Regions from separate parts of the Homo sapiens genome. Here regions 1, 2, 4 and 5 are each linked to region 3. The links are contacts of gene promoters, found by promoter capture Hi-C in blood cells and fetal thymus (Javierre and others, 2016). All regions are on one chromosome and are shown on one strand. Each heading gives the region's core, a stretch centred on a gene start or on the middle of the fragment in contact. The rest is flanking DNA. Distances are from core to core; before and after follow the strand shown.

The links. Contacts are between HindIII fragments. The CHiCAGO score rates a contact against its expected background, and 5 or more counts as called.
Region 1: a contact is called between a fragment that was not itself captured here and the fragment with the promoter of MIR17HG in region 3, in 6 of 17 cell types (total CD8 T cells, naive CD8 T cells, non-activated CD4 T cells and 3 more). The highest score is 21.2, in total CD8 T cells.
Region 2: a contact is called between a fragment that was not itself captured here and the fragment with the promoter of MIR17HG in region 3, in 1 of 17 cell types (naive CD8 T cells). The highest score is 5.6, in naive CD8 T cells.
Region 4: a fragment that was not itself captured here is called in contact with the fragment with the promoter of MIR17HG in region 3 in 2 of 17 cell types (naive B cells and total CD4 T cells); the score reaches 5.7 in naive B cells.
Region 5: a fragment that was not itself captured here is called in contact with the fragment with the promoter of MIR17HG in region 3 in 9 of 17 cell types (non-activated CD4 T cells, total CD4 T cells, naive CD8 T cells and 6 more); the score reaches 28.5 in non-activated CD4 T cells.

What each region holds. Positions count from the first base shown.
Region 1 is chr13:94,313,423-94,316,122 of GRCh38, reverse strand. The region is part of intron 6 of GPC6 (glypican 6); the gene reads right to left. Among named protein-coding and RNA genes, the nearest start is that of GPC6-AS1, 130 kb to the right of the region's middle. The HindIII fragment of the contact is 813 bases long and covers 886-1,698 here.
Region 2 is chr13:94,277,818-94,280,585 of GRCh38, reverse strand. The region is part of intron 4 of GPC6 (glypican 6); the gene reads right to left. Among named protein-coding and RNA genes, the nearest start is that of GPC6-AS1, 91 kb to the right of the region's middle. The HindIII fragment of the contact is 7,883 bases long and covers 1-2,768 here.
Region 3 is chr13:91,346,262-91,348,961 of GRCh38, reverse strand. MIR17HG (miR-17-92a-1 cluster host gene) reads right to left here and starts at 1,275. Exons shown (of 3, transcript NR_197388.1): 1 at 1,003-1,275. RefSeq lists enhancers at 1-237, 1,707-1,786 and silencers at 1-776, 827-1,606. The HindIII fragment of the contact is 6,871 bases long and covers 1-2,700 here.
Region 4 is chr13:94,259,157-94,261,914 of GRCh38, reverse strand. All of the region lies in intron 4 of GPC6 (glypican 6), which reads right to left. Among named protein-coding and RNA genes, the nearest start is that of GPC6-AS1, 73 kb to the right of the region's middle. The HindIII fragment of the contact is 2,748 bases long and covers 11-2,758 here.
Region 5 is chr13:94,329,566-94,332,265 of GRCh38, reverse strand. All of the region lies in intron 6 of GPC6 (glypican 6), which reads right to left. Among named protein-coding and RNA genes, the nearest start is that of GPC6-AS1, 140 kb to the right of the region's middle. The HindIII fragment of the contact is 750 bases long and covers 1,047-1,796 here.

The DNA.
Region 1 (2,700 bases), core at 43-2,542, 3.0 Mb before region 3:
AATCTTTACAAGAGCATGGTCTGATTTAAATTATAATTATTTTTGCCTGTCATCCTCTAAAGTGGGGGTGTCCAATCTTTTGGCTTCCCTGGGCCGTTTTTTGGAAGAAGAGGAATTGTCTTGGGACACACATAAGATATACTAACACTAAAGATGGCTGATGAGCTAAAAAAAAATCTCATAATGTTTTCAGGATGTTTACGAATTTGTGTTGGGCCGCATTCAAAGCCATCCTGGGCCACATGCAGGCCATGGGCTGTGGGTTGGACAAGTTTGCCCTAAAGTGTTGTGAGTTCTTCGATTATGGTCTAGTCACCTACGCATGGTTCATGTTAGTGCACAATAAATATGGTGAATAAAGGAAAGACTGATTTTTCTGTTCCTTTTCATGTAAGGTTTGTCTTAGGGTTGGAGAAAGTAATGACATGGATTTTTATCAATTTAAAAATCTTGCCTTCATCATAGTGTTTGTGGTCGATAATGTTACTGTTCACTAACATGTCCTTTTTCTCTCTCTATGTGAGGCACATAGGAACATATGTCCCTGACTTCCTGATGGCTTGATAATGTGACTTGCTTTGGCCAATGAGATGTGATCAGTATGATGTGACCCTTCCAGGTAGAGACATGAACAGCCACCTTTGCCACATTCTCCATTTCCCCTGCCATTGTGACAGGTGAACCTCCAGATAATGGCTGCTCTGTCACCCCGGATGCTGGAGTAAGGGTGATGACCACATGTAGCTGACTCACAGCCAATGCATAATGAACACTTGGCACATACAAGAAATAAACTTGTGTTGTTGTGGGCCATTTTGGGGACTGTTTATAGGTGTGGCCTTGCCTGGCCTGGTCCATCTGGATCAATACAGCATAGGAAAAGCTTCTACAGAGATCACACAAACCAACTTCCAACAAATTATTTGTTAGTAAGCAATATAATGGAGCTGCTGCTGGTGGTGGTTCATTCATTGACTATCAACCTGACTTTTTATTTTTCGATAGCTCAGCCAGTGTTATGGGTATAAGAAAATACCCATGAAGTCAGAGCCTTTGATGATAATGACTGTGAATGAACTTAGTAATAAAGTTATTGTGTATTGCAAATAGCTTTCTACCTTTAACAGTTATGAAGGGAAGTCAATTTTCACTCAGATGGGTTCCTTTTCATCTGTTTTTTCTCTACAATGTTTATGTCTGAGGTTTATTGCTAGCAGTAAAGAGTGTCCGAGTATGTTATGGGAATAGCCAAATTCCCAGTCCTTTAAAATGTATTCCATAGGCCCCAGAGTCTGTTAGAAGCTGATTGATTATACAGCAAATACATCAAAACTGGTATTTATGAAATATCCTATTTCTTCAGCTCTATCTCTCATAAGCATGAACATCACATTTGGGAGTTGTGGTGCAAATATCTCAGACAGCTAAGAGAAAATATTGTCGCAGATTTTCCATGACAAGGAAAAGGTTCTTTAATCTATTCAATAATTTAATAAAAGATCTATGTCAACTGATGAGGCTCATGAACAAATATTTTTAAAGGTATGGTTTGAGCAGTTTAGTGTGGCTTGTCTATCCAGACTTCCATAATCAATCTACCAAAACACCAATTACATAGCAGAATAAAGGACAGTTACCGTGAAACGAGTGCGCAGATGGACTTTTGCATCTGACTGGTTCATAACTGACAACAAAGCTTCTGTTTAATTTGTTCAAGGTTTGGGCAGAAAGTTCTGGCTTAAGAAGGGAAAATGAGCTATTAGACATGGCCTATATTAAGGACGCTACAGATGTTTAATGTTTTTAATTTGCATATTTGGCCAATGATTATTCATTTGTTAATATGCCTTCTACATATTCTTTTTTGGCATAGTCAATCTGAGATTGCAAAATCAAACTCCCACTTATTGTATGCTAATATTAATATTCCATGAGCCTCTATACTATGTACTGTTCTCTGGAGAAGACATAGCATGTCTAACTGACTTGGAAAGTAACGGCTTTTCTAAACAGTCACTTGCCTTTTGATGACGCCAGCACTAACAACATGCTATAATGTAGATTGTACATAGCAGCTAGTTTTACTAAGTGCTATGCAACAGAGAATAACTCAATCAATAATTTATTGATAGATTGATATCTACCGAATGCATCAATTTGGGTTTAGCTGAAGTCTAGGAATTCTGAAAGAAATTTTAAAGCCTGAAGCAGAAAATAAGCATATCAACATGCCATAAAATAGATATAAAATCTCTAATAGCCCTATTTTGGCTCTGAAAGTGTAACATTTCATTTTTTATGATACAGAGGTCACCAAAGCTCTTGCTTAAGTGTTTCTGAGGATAAAGGAGAGTTTAATCCAGAGTTGAAAAGAGTTTTGTTAACAAATCGCCCCCAATATGATTTAATATAACTCACACTTAATATTAAGTTGTGCAAAATTGTTCCCCTTCCAAAACATGTTGCATAACATTATTTCGTTGTCAGAATCCATATGATTCTCTGAACATGTCTTAAAGCAGTGATGTGGACTGGGCTTTAGTATCTCCCAGGGAGTTACGTAGCCAGAGTGAGTGTACTCTTCCTTCTCCCCAGGGTATACAGCCCTGTGCAATTAAACACAACTTTGCCAGGACTGAAAGAGAGGTCTATGTGCCTTCTATTTTCACTATTCTTACACATGCCCAAAAGAATAGCTTC
Region 2 (2,768 bases), core at 64-2,563, 2.9 Mb before region 3:
GTATAGGCTGATTAATGCCCATGGCATGAATGTAACTAGGGGCACTGCTGTCTCCTGTGGAGTGCTGGAGACAGGCACGCTGAATATACATGTCCTTTGCTTTCACCCAAATCGATGAATTAAAATGCTTGTGAGATCTTGGGCTGGAATGTGTTTCAGGAGAGGCTGGAAAGAGAGCACAGCTAGAGGGGACTGAGGAGTACATAAGCCAGGATCTGAATGACCCGGAAAGAGGGCCAATTTAGGACTAGAAATTACCCAGGCAGAAGGTCCCAGCCCTTTTAGGAGCATTAAAACATTTTTATTTCTGATTTTAAAAATTATCTCTGGCCCAGTCTCTGAAAAAACAGGCTTTAAACCAACAAAGATCAAAAAAGGCAAAGAAGTGCATTACATAATGGTAAAGGGATCAATTCAAAAAGAAGAGCTATCTATCCTAAATATAAATGCACCTAATCAAAGAGCACCCAGATTTATAAAACAAGTTCTTAGAGACCTACAAAGAAACTTAGACTCTCACACAATAATAGTGGGAGACTTTAACACCCCAGTCAATATTAGACAGATCAATGAGATAGAAAATTAACAAGGATATTCAGGACTTGAACTCAGCTCTGGATCAAGTGGACCTAATAGACATCTACAGAACTCTTCACCCCAAATCAACAGAGTATACATTCTTCTCAGTGCCACATGACACTTGCTCTAAAATTGATCACATAATTGGAAGTAAAACACTCCTCAGCAAATGCAAAGGAACTGAAATCATTAACAAATAGTCTCTCAGACCACAGTGCCATCAAATTAGAACTCAGGATTAACTAACTCACTCAAAACCACACAATTACATGGAAATGGAACAACCTGCTCCTGAGTGACTCCTGGGTAAATAATGAAATTAAGGCAGAAATCAAGAAGTTCTTTGAAACCAATAGAATAAACAGACAGCATACGAGAATCTCTGGGACACACCTAAAGCAGTGTTAAGAGGGAAATTTATAGTACTAAATGCCCACATCAGAAAGCTAGAAAGATCTCAGATCGATACCCTAACATCACAATTAAAATAACTAGAGAAGCAAGAGCAAACTAATCCAAAAGCTAGGAGAAGGCAAGAAATAACTAAGATCGGGGCAGAATTGAAGGAGATAAAGACACAAAAATCCTTCCAACAAATCAACGAATCCAGGAGCTGTTTTTTTTTTTTTTGAAAAAGATCAACAAAATAGATAGACTGCTAGCTAGGCTAACTAAAAAGGAAAGAGAAGAATAAAATAGACACAATAAAAAATGATAAAGGGGATATCACCACTGACCCCACAGAAATACAAACTACCATCAGAGAATAATATAAACACCTCTATGCAAATAAATTAGAAAATATAAAAGAAATGGATAACTTCCTGGACACATACACCCTCCCAAGACTAAACCAGGAAGAAGTTGAATCCCTGAATAAACCAATAACAAGTTCTGAAATTGAGGCAGTAATTAATAGCCTACCAACCAAAAAAAGCCCAGGACCAGACAGATTCACAGCCGAATTCTACCAGAGGTACAAAGAGGATCTGGTACCATTCTTTCTGAAACTACCCCAAACAATTGAAAAGGAGGGACTCCTCCCTAACTCATTTTATGAAGCCAGCATCATACTGATACCAAAATCTGGCAGAAACATAACAAAAAAAGAAAACTTCAGGCCAATATCCCTGATGAACATCGATGTGAAAATCCTCAATAAAATACTGGCAAAGTGAATTCAGTAGCACATCAAAAACCACATCCACCACAATCAAGTCAGCTTCATCCCTGGGATGCAAGGCTGGCTCAACATATACAAATCAATATATGTAATCCATCACATAAATAGAACCAAAGGCAAAAACCACATGACTATCTCAATAAATGTAGAAAAAGCCTTTGATAAAATTCAACATCCCTTCATGTTAAAAACTCTCAATAAGCTAGGTATTGATGGAACATATCTCAAAATAACAAGAGCTATTTATGACAAACCCATAGCCAATATCATATTGAATGGGCAAACGTTGGAAGCATTCCCTTTGAAAACCGGTACAAGACAAGGATGCCCTCTCTCATCACTCATATTCAACATAGTATCAGAAGCTCTGGCCAGGGCAATTAGGCAGGAGAAAGAAATAAACATACTCAAATAGAAAGAGAGGAAGTCAAATTGTCTCTGTTTGCAGAAGACATGATTCTATACTTAGAAAAGCCCATCATCTCAGCCCAAAAACTCCTTAAGCTGATAAGCAACTTGAGCAAAGTCTCAGGACACAAAATCAATGTGAAAAGATCACAAACATTCCTTTATACCAACAATAGACAAGCAGAGTGCCAAATCATAAATGAACTCCCATTGACAATTGCTACAAAGAGAATAAAATACTTAGGAATACAACTAACAAGGGATGTGAAGGACCGCGTCAAGGAGAACTACAAACCACTGCTCAAGGAAATAAGATAGGACACAAACAAATGGAAAAACATTCCATCCTCATGGATAGGAAGAACCAATATCATGAAAATGGCCATACTGCCCACAGTAATTTATAGATTCACTGCTATTCCCATCAAACTGCCATTGACATTCTTCACAAAATTAGGAAAAACTACTTTAAATTACATATGGAATCAAAGAAGACCCATCCAAGACAAAGAACAAGAACAGCCAAGACAAAGAACAAAGCTGGAGGCATCATGCTACCTGAGTTCAAACTATACTACAAGGTGACAGTAATGAAAAC
Region 3 (2,700 bases), core at 26-2,525:
GGGCGCGCCGCCCCTCCTTTGTGTCCCCCAGCCCCCCCGAGCCCGGCCCAGAGGGGCGGGGGCTCCGCGGCCGCGGTGCCCGTCGCACGCGGCCCGAGGCCTAAGCCGGGAACAATCGGCGGCGGCGCGCAGTCGCCGCCATGTCCCCCGCCCTCACCCCCGTGCAGCCCGCCCCGCAGGAACATGGCGGCGGGGACGCCGCTCCCGCCGAGCCGGGCTGGCCCTCCCGCGCCACACTCCCAGCAAGCGGCCGGGCGCAGGCGGCTCCACGCCGCGGCTGAGGCCGACTGCGGCCTCCTCCGAGGGCCACGGCGGGGAAGTTGCGGGCCCCGCCCCGAGGCTGCCCACGCGGGCTAACAAAGCCCACGCGGAGCGGGGGTGGCGCCCAGGCCGCGCCGATCTCGGCGCCCCTCCGCCCACCCTCGCGCGTACAAAGTTTGGGGAACCGCGGGCTCCCGCCCACGCCACGCCGCCCGCTGGCGCGCAGGTACCTCGTGGGCGCGCCCCCTCCCGGCCCGCGGCCTGCCCCATGTGCCGCCGCCGCCGCCGCTTTGTTCTGGAGGCGCTTTAACTCTCGCCCTCGGGAGAAACTTTCCTACCCAGAGACCCCACGCCCCGCGCGCGCCCCGGGCCCCGGAGAAGGCACGGGCCTCGCACGTCCTCTCCCCGAGGGGCCATTGTGTTCGCCGTCCGCCCACCCGCCTTCGGGTCGGCCCAGGCAGGGTCTGCGCGGGTCCCGGGCGCGGCCGCCACGCGCACGCCGCCCCCTCCCACCCTCCCGCCCCGGCCCTGCCCCCCTCCGCCGGCCCGCGGGCGAGCGAGGGGGCAGCCAGATGCGGCTGCCACACGCCGGGGCGGCCAACGGCCGAGACCCGCCCCGGCCACGCCGCCGCCGCCACGCTGCCCCGGGCCAGTCCGCCCCGGGCCGCTCCGCCCCGCCCGCCAGACCCGGGCCGCACACAACAGGTTTCCCTCCGTCGCCGGAGGGGCGGGCAGACTCACCAGGAGGAGTAGCCGCCACCATCTTCGGCTGGCCGGCCGCGGGCTCCTGCTCCCGCCTCCCCGCCCGCCTGCGCTTTACTACGACCGGAGGCCCCAGGCCGGGGGTGCGGCCGGCCGGCCCGCCCCGCGAGGAGAGCTTCGCGGAGGAGCGCGAGCCCCGGCGGCGCTGCGGTAGTCGTCCCCACCCCCTCGGCCTCGCCCGAGGGCGCGAAGTGGCGCGAAGGCGCAGGTCGGGCGGCGGCGGCGGCACCTCGAAGGACCATGTGGGTGAATGAAGGGCGGCGGCTCCCGCCTCAACGTAAATACGGACAAGCCCCACTCCCTCATTAGCATAAAAAACAAAGTACTTCCGACCTCCCCGCCCGCCCGCCAATCACCGCAGGCCCCGCCCACGGCGGCTCGTTCTTGGCGGCCGGGAGAGCGGGAGCCGGGAGCCGCTGGCGGCGCCGCGCAGCCTTCCCCGGGCCGCGCTCCCCCGTGGCCCGCCCACCGCCGCCAGCCTCGCGGAGCGCCTCGCCCGAACACCTCGCGCCACGCCTCCGGCACGCCCTCCGTTAACAAGCTCTGCGCGCGTGCAGACCCCCGCGCGCCGCACACCCTCCTGGAAGCGCACGCTTCCCGGGGCTTCCTGGGAGCCCTGCTCTCCCTGGGACTCGACGTGTACGCTGTGCGATCACAGTTTATTACTTTACCGGCCCTTGGTGGGTTTCCGAGGTAATTAGGGGCCTGCTCCAGGCCAACCGGAACCAGAGAAGTAAAATCCAGTGACTTTAACATCGAAACAGAATTACTCGCTGCAAAGATCGTTTGAGACCCAGAAATAAATACATTACACCCGACACTCTTGTGAATGCACACTTCGTGGCAATGTGTTTCCTTAACCTGGCCGCGTGTAAACCAAAACGCATGCCCGAGCAGAGGTTTCACAGCTGCAGTACCTGAGCCTCCCCTCTCATGCCCAGCTGCATTTAGTAAGAACTCTGGGTTCTCCAGTAGAAATAGCATAGCTCGGAAAGAACCTCATAAACAACCACAAAGCTGAGAAAAGAAGCCCAATCAGGAGCACCTCCTTCTTCACATTGTGGTTCAGGAAATTCCGGAATTCTCAGAAACATAATTGTTAAAAGTGAGGATTCATAACATTTACGAGAAATACAGCAATTATAAATTGGTTTAAATCTAGTAAGTAGCTACTGCAAAGCACATATCACTGGTTCGTGATTGTACAAGTCAACTGTAAAACACACATTACCAAAGGATGTCTTTAATGCCCCAATGTTAAAATTTTTGACATTCAAACCTTGACAGTATTGTCATTTACTGTCTTTGACTTATTTTATCATGCTTTGCTTAAATCCAATTGTCAAACTAGTGATGACATAAAAAATAGTGGATTAAAGTTTTGCTACTCTTTTTTTTATTGAGTCTAGTTTCTAGATATTCCTTTCTTTGTAAATCAAAATAAAAGGCCAAATCTGAAATTTTACAATATCTAATATTTCTGTAATATAGTCATTTATGAACGTTTCAAAGAGGAAAACACTGCTAATTTTATTACAAGTCTAATTTTACGTTACTTTTGGTCGGCATTGACTAATATGTCAATGCCTTTTTCTTTAAAACTTTATCTTCTGTTTCAAATTAGAATGGTTGAGGCGGGGGGATGTTGTGAGTAAGATTGTTCATCACACTCTCTGA
Region 4 (2,758 bases), core at 135-2,634, 2.9 Mb before region 3:
CAGGCAAGCTTCTGAAAAAGAACAGCCTACATCCAGGTCTTGTTTGTCTCCCAATAATTTCTTAATTCATATTCATCTGGTTTTGGCCACAAACTGCTCTCACTAAAGTACCAACAACTGATTAACTGCCAGTGTCTGTCCTCTCTGTCACACTGGACGCTACTGACTTGTGCTTCACATTCTTCTGTGTGTCATGATGGGGCTCTATGTCTCTGTCTCCTCCTGCCCATCTCTGGTCACTTCTTGTTTATTTGTTCATTAGTTATTAACTATTAGTGTGCTCATTTCTTAAGCATTAGCTCCTCCAGGGTATAGGCCTGAGCCCTCTGTATATACCCTCTGGGTAGTTTCACCCATACCCATTAATCCATTTTTCATTGTGATTTTTAAAAATTTCTATTTCTACTGACCTCACACGTAAACACTAAATCCTTATTTATAGGTAACCAACTAGTAGACAGTCCCCCTCAAATGTCTTGTATTTGTCAATTATGACCTGTGCAAAAGAGAACATAGCACTTGCTCTTCCTGCTGAACCCATTCTTCAAATAGCTTCCTCTTTTTCAAGAACAGTGTCATACCCTGTTGCCCAAACCATTAACAAATGCTCTTTCCTTTTCCTTATTATTATTGCATTTTTGAGACAGAGTTTCACTCTTTTGCTGAGGCTGGAGTGAAGTGGCGTGGTCTTGGCTTACTGCAACCTCCGCCCCCTGGGTTCAAGTGATTCTTCTGCCTCAGCCTCCCAAGGCAGCTGGGATTATAGGCGCCCACCACCACGCCTGGCTAATTTTTGTATTTTTAGTAGACATGGGGTTTCACCATGTAGGCCAGGCTGGTTTCGAACTCCTGACCTCAAGTGATCCACCCACCTTGGCCTCCCAAAGTGCTAGGATTACAGACATGAGCCACTGTGCCCGGCGCCTTTTCCTTATTTTCATAATCAATCTAACACTAAGGTGTTGCTTTCCAAACTTTTTTCCCATACACCCACTATTTTAGTTCTAGCCTGAATCATATGATGATATCTGAACAATAATCATAACCCTCCAACTTGTTTCTAGTGTTCCGCCCTTCCTCCCTTCAACCCAGCCTCCACCATGCTCCCGACTGATAGGTAGAAAACTCAGATCTGATCTGACCCCTTCTCTTCAGTCAATCATTTAGATTGCTGGCAACTCCTTCAAAAGATCAGTAGTCACCAGGCCCTATGATGTGGCTGTGGGCTCTTTTCTCCCTGCAGATTCATATGCTGAAGTCCTAACTTCCAGCACCTCAGAATATGGTTATATTAGGAGATAGAGTCTTCAAAGGGCTGATTAAAGTAAAATGTGGTCATATGGATGGGCCCTAATCCATTATAACTGATGTCCTTATAAGAAGAAGAGATTAGGATGCAGACACACAGAGAAGGAAGACCACAGAAAGACACAGGGAGAAGATGGCCAAGTATAATCCAAGGTTGGTTTCAGAAGAAACTAACCCTACTGACACCTTGATCTTGGACTTGCAGACTCCAGAACTGTGAGAAAATAAATTTCTGTTGTTTAAGCCACTCCAGTCTGTGGTACTTTGATATGGCAGCCCTAGCAAACTGATATACATACTACTCTTAACTGATCTTCAAAGCACAGCTTGCATACTTCTGAATCCTCAGGCTGAGCTAGGAATCCCTTTTTTGAGCTCTGCCTCTGTGTTCTAACAATAACAAACAAAACAGCAATAAAGACCAGACCATGGCAGCAGGTGTCACTTCTGAAGCACCTGTGATGTGCTCTATATTCAGTACTTTACAGATGCTTTATCACTTATAAAACATCTGCAACAGGTTAAGAACATCCCGTTTGTCCCTAAGTTTCAGTGAGATTAAAGATAGTACTAAAAAAAGGGACTTAAGTAGATACTATATACCCATGTACACCATAACATCATTCACAATAGCCAAAAAGTAGAACACAAAGTCTATTGGTAGATTAATGATAAACAAAATATCGTGTGCGTGTGTGTGTGTATGTGTGTGTGTGCATGTGTGTATACACACAATAGAGTATTATTATTCAACCATAAAAATCATAAGATTATGACACATGCTAGAATATGAATGAACCTTGAGAACATTTTGCTAAGTGAAATAAGCAGGACACAAAAGGACAAATACTATGTGATTCCAGTTATGTGAGGTAATTAGAATAGGCAGATTCATAGAGATAGGAAATAGAGTGGCCATTGCCAGGTACCAAAAGGAAGGGGAACAGGGAAATGGGGAATTATTTTTAATGGGCACGGAGTTTCTGTTGGGACAATGAAAAATTCTGGAATTGGATAGGGGTGGTTTACACAACATAGTGAGTATTCTTAATGCCACTGAATCATACACCCAAAAAATCGTTAAAATATTTTTGAAAAGTACAATGAAAGCTAGCTTTTAAAAAAAGATAGTGCTAAACCAACCAATGCTAGCATGTAAGCAGCCCAGCCTAGAGTTGTCTAACTGGATCACCTTAGAGACTACCAGCCCACTCAATAATCATTTCCCCCATCTTTCATGTTAATGGAACCCTAATTTGTTCCAATAACCAAATACACTTCAGCCCAGATAAATTCTGGTTAGTCTAACCCTATCATGGAAATCTCATTCTCCTTGTTGGTTATTGGTTTAGGGGCAGGCTTGTAGCTGTCTGGCCAATGACACATAAAGTAATGTTTGCTCGGGGCTTCTGGGAAGGTTTCCAGTGTGGCAGGGGCTTTGGGGAAAGCT
Region 5 (2,700 bases), core at 172-2,671, 3.0 Mb before region 3:
TGTTAAAGCCCCCAGTGACCAACTTCTTGGCCTCATAAGCACTTATTGGAAGAAACCAAAGCCAAAAAAGGATGAGAAAAGGGGCCCAAAAGAATTATAAAAGAAAAAATTAAATTTTTGAATATCGGGTAATAGTCAAAGGAATGTCCAGTTTCTAGAACCTGTTCGGGGAGATTCTTCCAGCCTGCTCTTATCCACCTCTCCCTTCTTTAATTCCTGTTGCACAAAGCATTACTGCCTCATAGTTTGCAATGACTGAGACTCAGATGGAGAACAGAAATAAAATCTTACATGACTTTAGATTTCTCCATCGCTTATTGACGAGAAGAAAAAAAGAGAGAGAAGAGCACATGTTTTTAGTTGACGAACTCTTTGATATAATCCAAAATTGGCTTAATATCTATATTCCAATGCTTAAAACTTTCCCTGAGGAAGAAATCTCTTGCTTGAAAAAGACTGGTACCCAAATTAATTCACCTTTTACTTTTCCTAAGTAGTGATCCTTGCTTTCCATCTTGCCTAAAAATCTTTGTATTCCCAGGTTTAACTCAGAATTTTCATACTAGGATCCTTTCTCATACTATTTGGAAATGCATGAATTTATGAAGGGTCCATTTTAGGTGGACACTCAAGCAATACTTCCAACAACTTGACAGACAAATGCTGCTGTCCGTGGACAAGGATGAACCTCTCTTTGTTCTTATTTGTGGCTACAATGCAGATAGATCAGTTCTGGGCCCTCTGCCTGACTCCATGTAACCACACAGCTGCTTAAAATCTGCTTGGGATTAGGGGTGTACACTGGGCTATGGAACCAACTAAAAATATGGGCCCAGATGGTCAGCAATCACTCAACCCTGGCCTCATTTAGGGGTTGCTGTAAATCAGGGACGGGCAAACTTCCTCTCTGAAAGGATAGGTAGTATTATTTTAGGCTTTGCAGACCATAGGGTCTCTATCGAGATGACTAAGTGCTGCTATTGTACTGTCAGTACAGCATTAGACAATATCTAAATGAATGAGCAGGGCTGTGTTCCAATAAAGCTTTATTTATTAAAATAGGTGGCTCGGCCCGTAGGTCATAGTTTGCTGATTGCTGCAAAGAAACTTGTCTGACTAGCTGACCCCAACTCTGGTTTACCTATTGTACTAGTCCCCATCCTAAAAATCACTGCATACAGTTTCTTAAATCTGCCAGTTAGAGTTGATGTAGCACCCTCCAAATCAATCTAAAATGTGATAGAAAAAGGAGGCAAATTTTTTTATTAAATATTTGGAGGGAGGCCCAATTTCTGAGATCAGAGGAAGATACTAAACTCGTAGAACAGTCTTATATGGTTATATCAATGTAACAATCAGCCTCTTAAGAAAACCACATAAAAGGACAGCAATCAACCCAACAAACCCACTAGATCTCGTATCCAGAGCTTTTTGAAATAGGCTAAGGTCTCAAGAGATATATAGGTGAATATGCAGTTTCTCCTCTGTACCTTTTTGAGATTACACAGGGAAAAACATGGAGCACAGAGCTCATTGCATATTGACTATTATCATCCACCTTTAACAGACAAGGATTTGAGCTGTGCTTCTCTTAGCATGATGTACCTACGAATCACCTGGGATCTTGTTGAAATGCAGGTTCTGATGCTGCAGGCCTGGGGTAGGACCTGTGATTCTTCATTTTTTTAACAGGTGATACTGATGCTGCCAGTTTAGGAATCACATTTTGATAAACAAGGACTTGGGGAAGTGGCTAGCAACCTTGGCTGCACCCCAAGGACATGCTTTAGGAAGCTTTCCAAATACAGATGCTGGGTCAGTCCCAAGCCAAACAGATCAACATCTCTAAATACGAGGCCCAGGCATCAGTATTTAATGTTTCCCAGGTAATTTTCATGTACAGTCAAGACTGAGAGTTCCTGAGTTAGAGGCTCAGAGAAATTAACTGACTCGCCCAAGGTCACTTGGCCAGTGGCCAAACAGACTTTAAACGGTAAAAATTTTGCTGGCCCCAGGATCTTTGAAAATGATCCTAAAAATTATTACTAGGCAGGCATAACATAGGCAAGGGTTGCATCGTTTCCATAAGAATTGCTAATGTGAGAGAGAGAAGAAGAGGAAAGGTGGGATTAAACTTATGCAGGGAGTTATCAGTCCTGATCGAGGGAACACAGAGAAAGCAGGCAGCACAGTTGCTCTGTTCCAGTGTGAAATTCCCTTTCAAGGATCACTATTTCTTCATGAAAGCAACATGGTAGGAGCCTCTCAGAAGGCATATTCAAGTTCAGCAATGCGCAGTACCTTCAGCTCCTTTGATGAATCACTACATGATGAAACTTTAGAGGCTGAGTAATCACATTTGGCTTCGTTTCTGCCTCTTGGGAGGTTCAAAAAGTCATGTTTATGGGAAAGGGTAAAATTTCTGACCCAGGGATTTTTTTTTTGTCCCAAATAGGACCAAGGTAAGAGAAGAGGAGGAGGAGGAGTAGGAGGAAGGAGGAGGAGGAAGAGGAGGAGGAGAAGTAAAGCAATATTGGGAAATTATCAGACAACCCAAGATTTTCTGAATCTCCTAAACCCATTCAATCCCATGTTGTGAATGGAGGTCCATTTTCATCTGGAAAAACATGAATTTCAATTACATTTACACAATTGTTCAACCACAGTTTTCAAGATCAGATGCATTTTCTCACTGTCTGC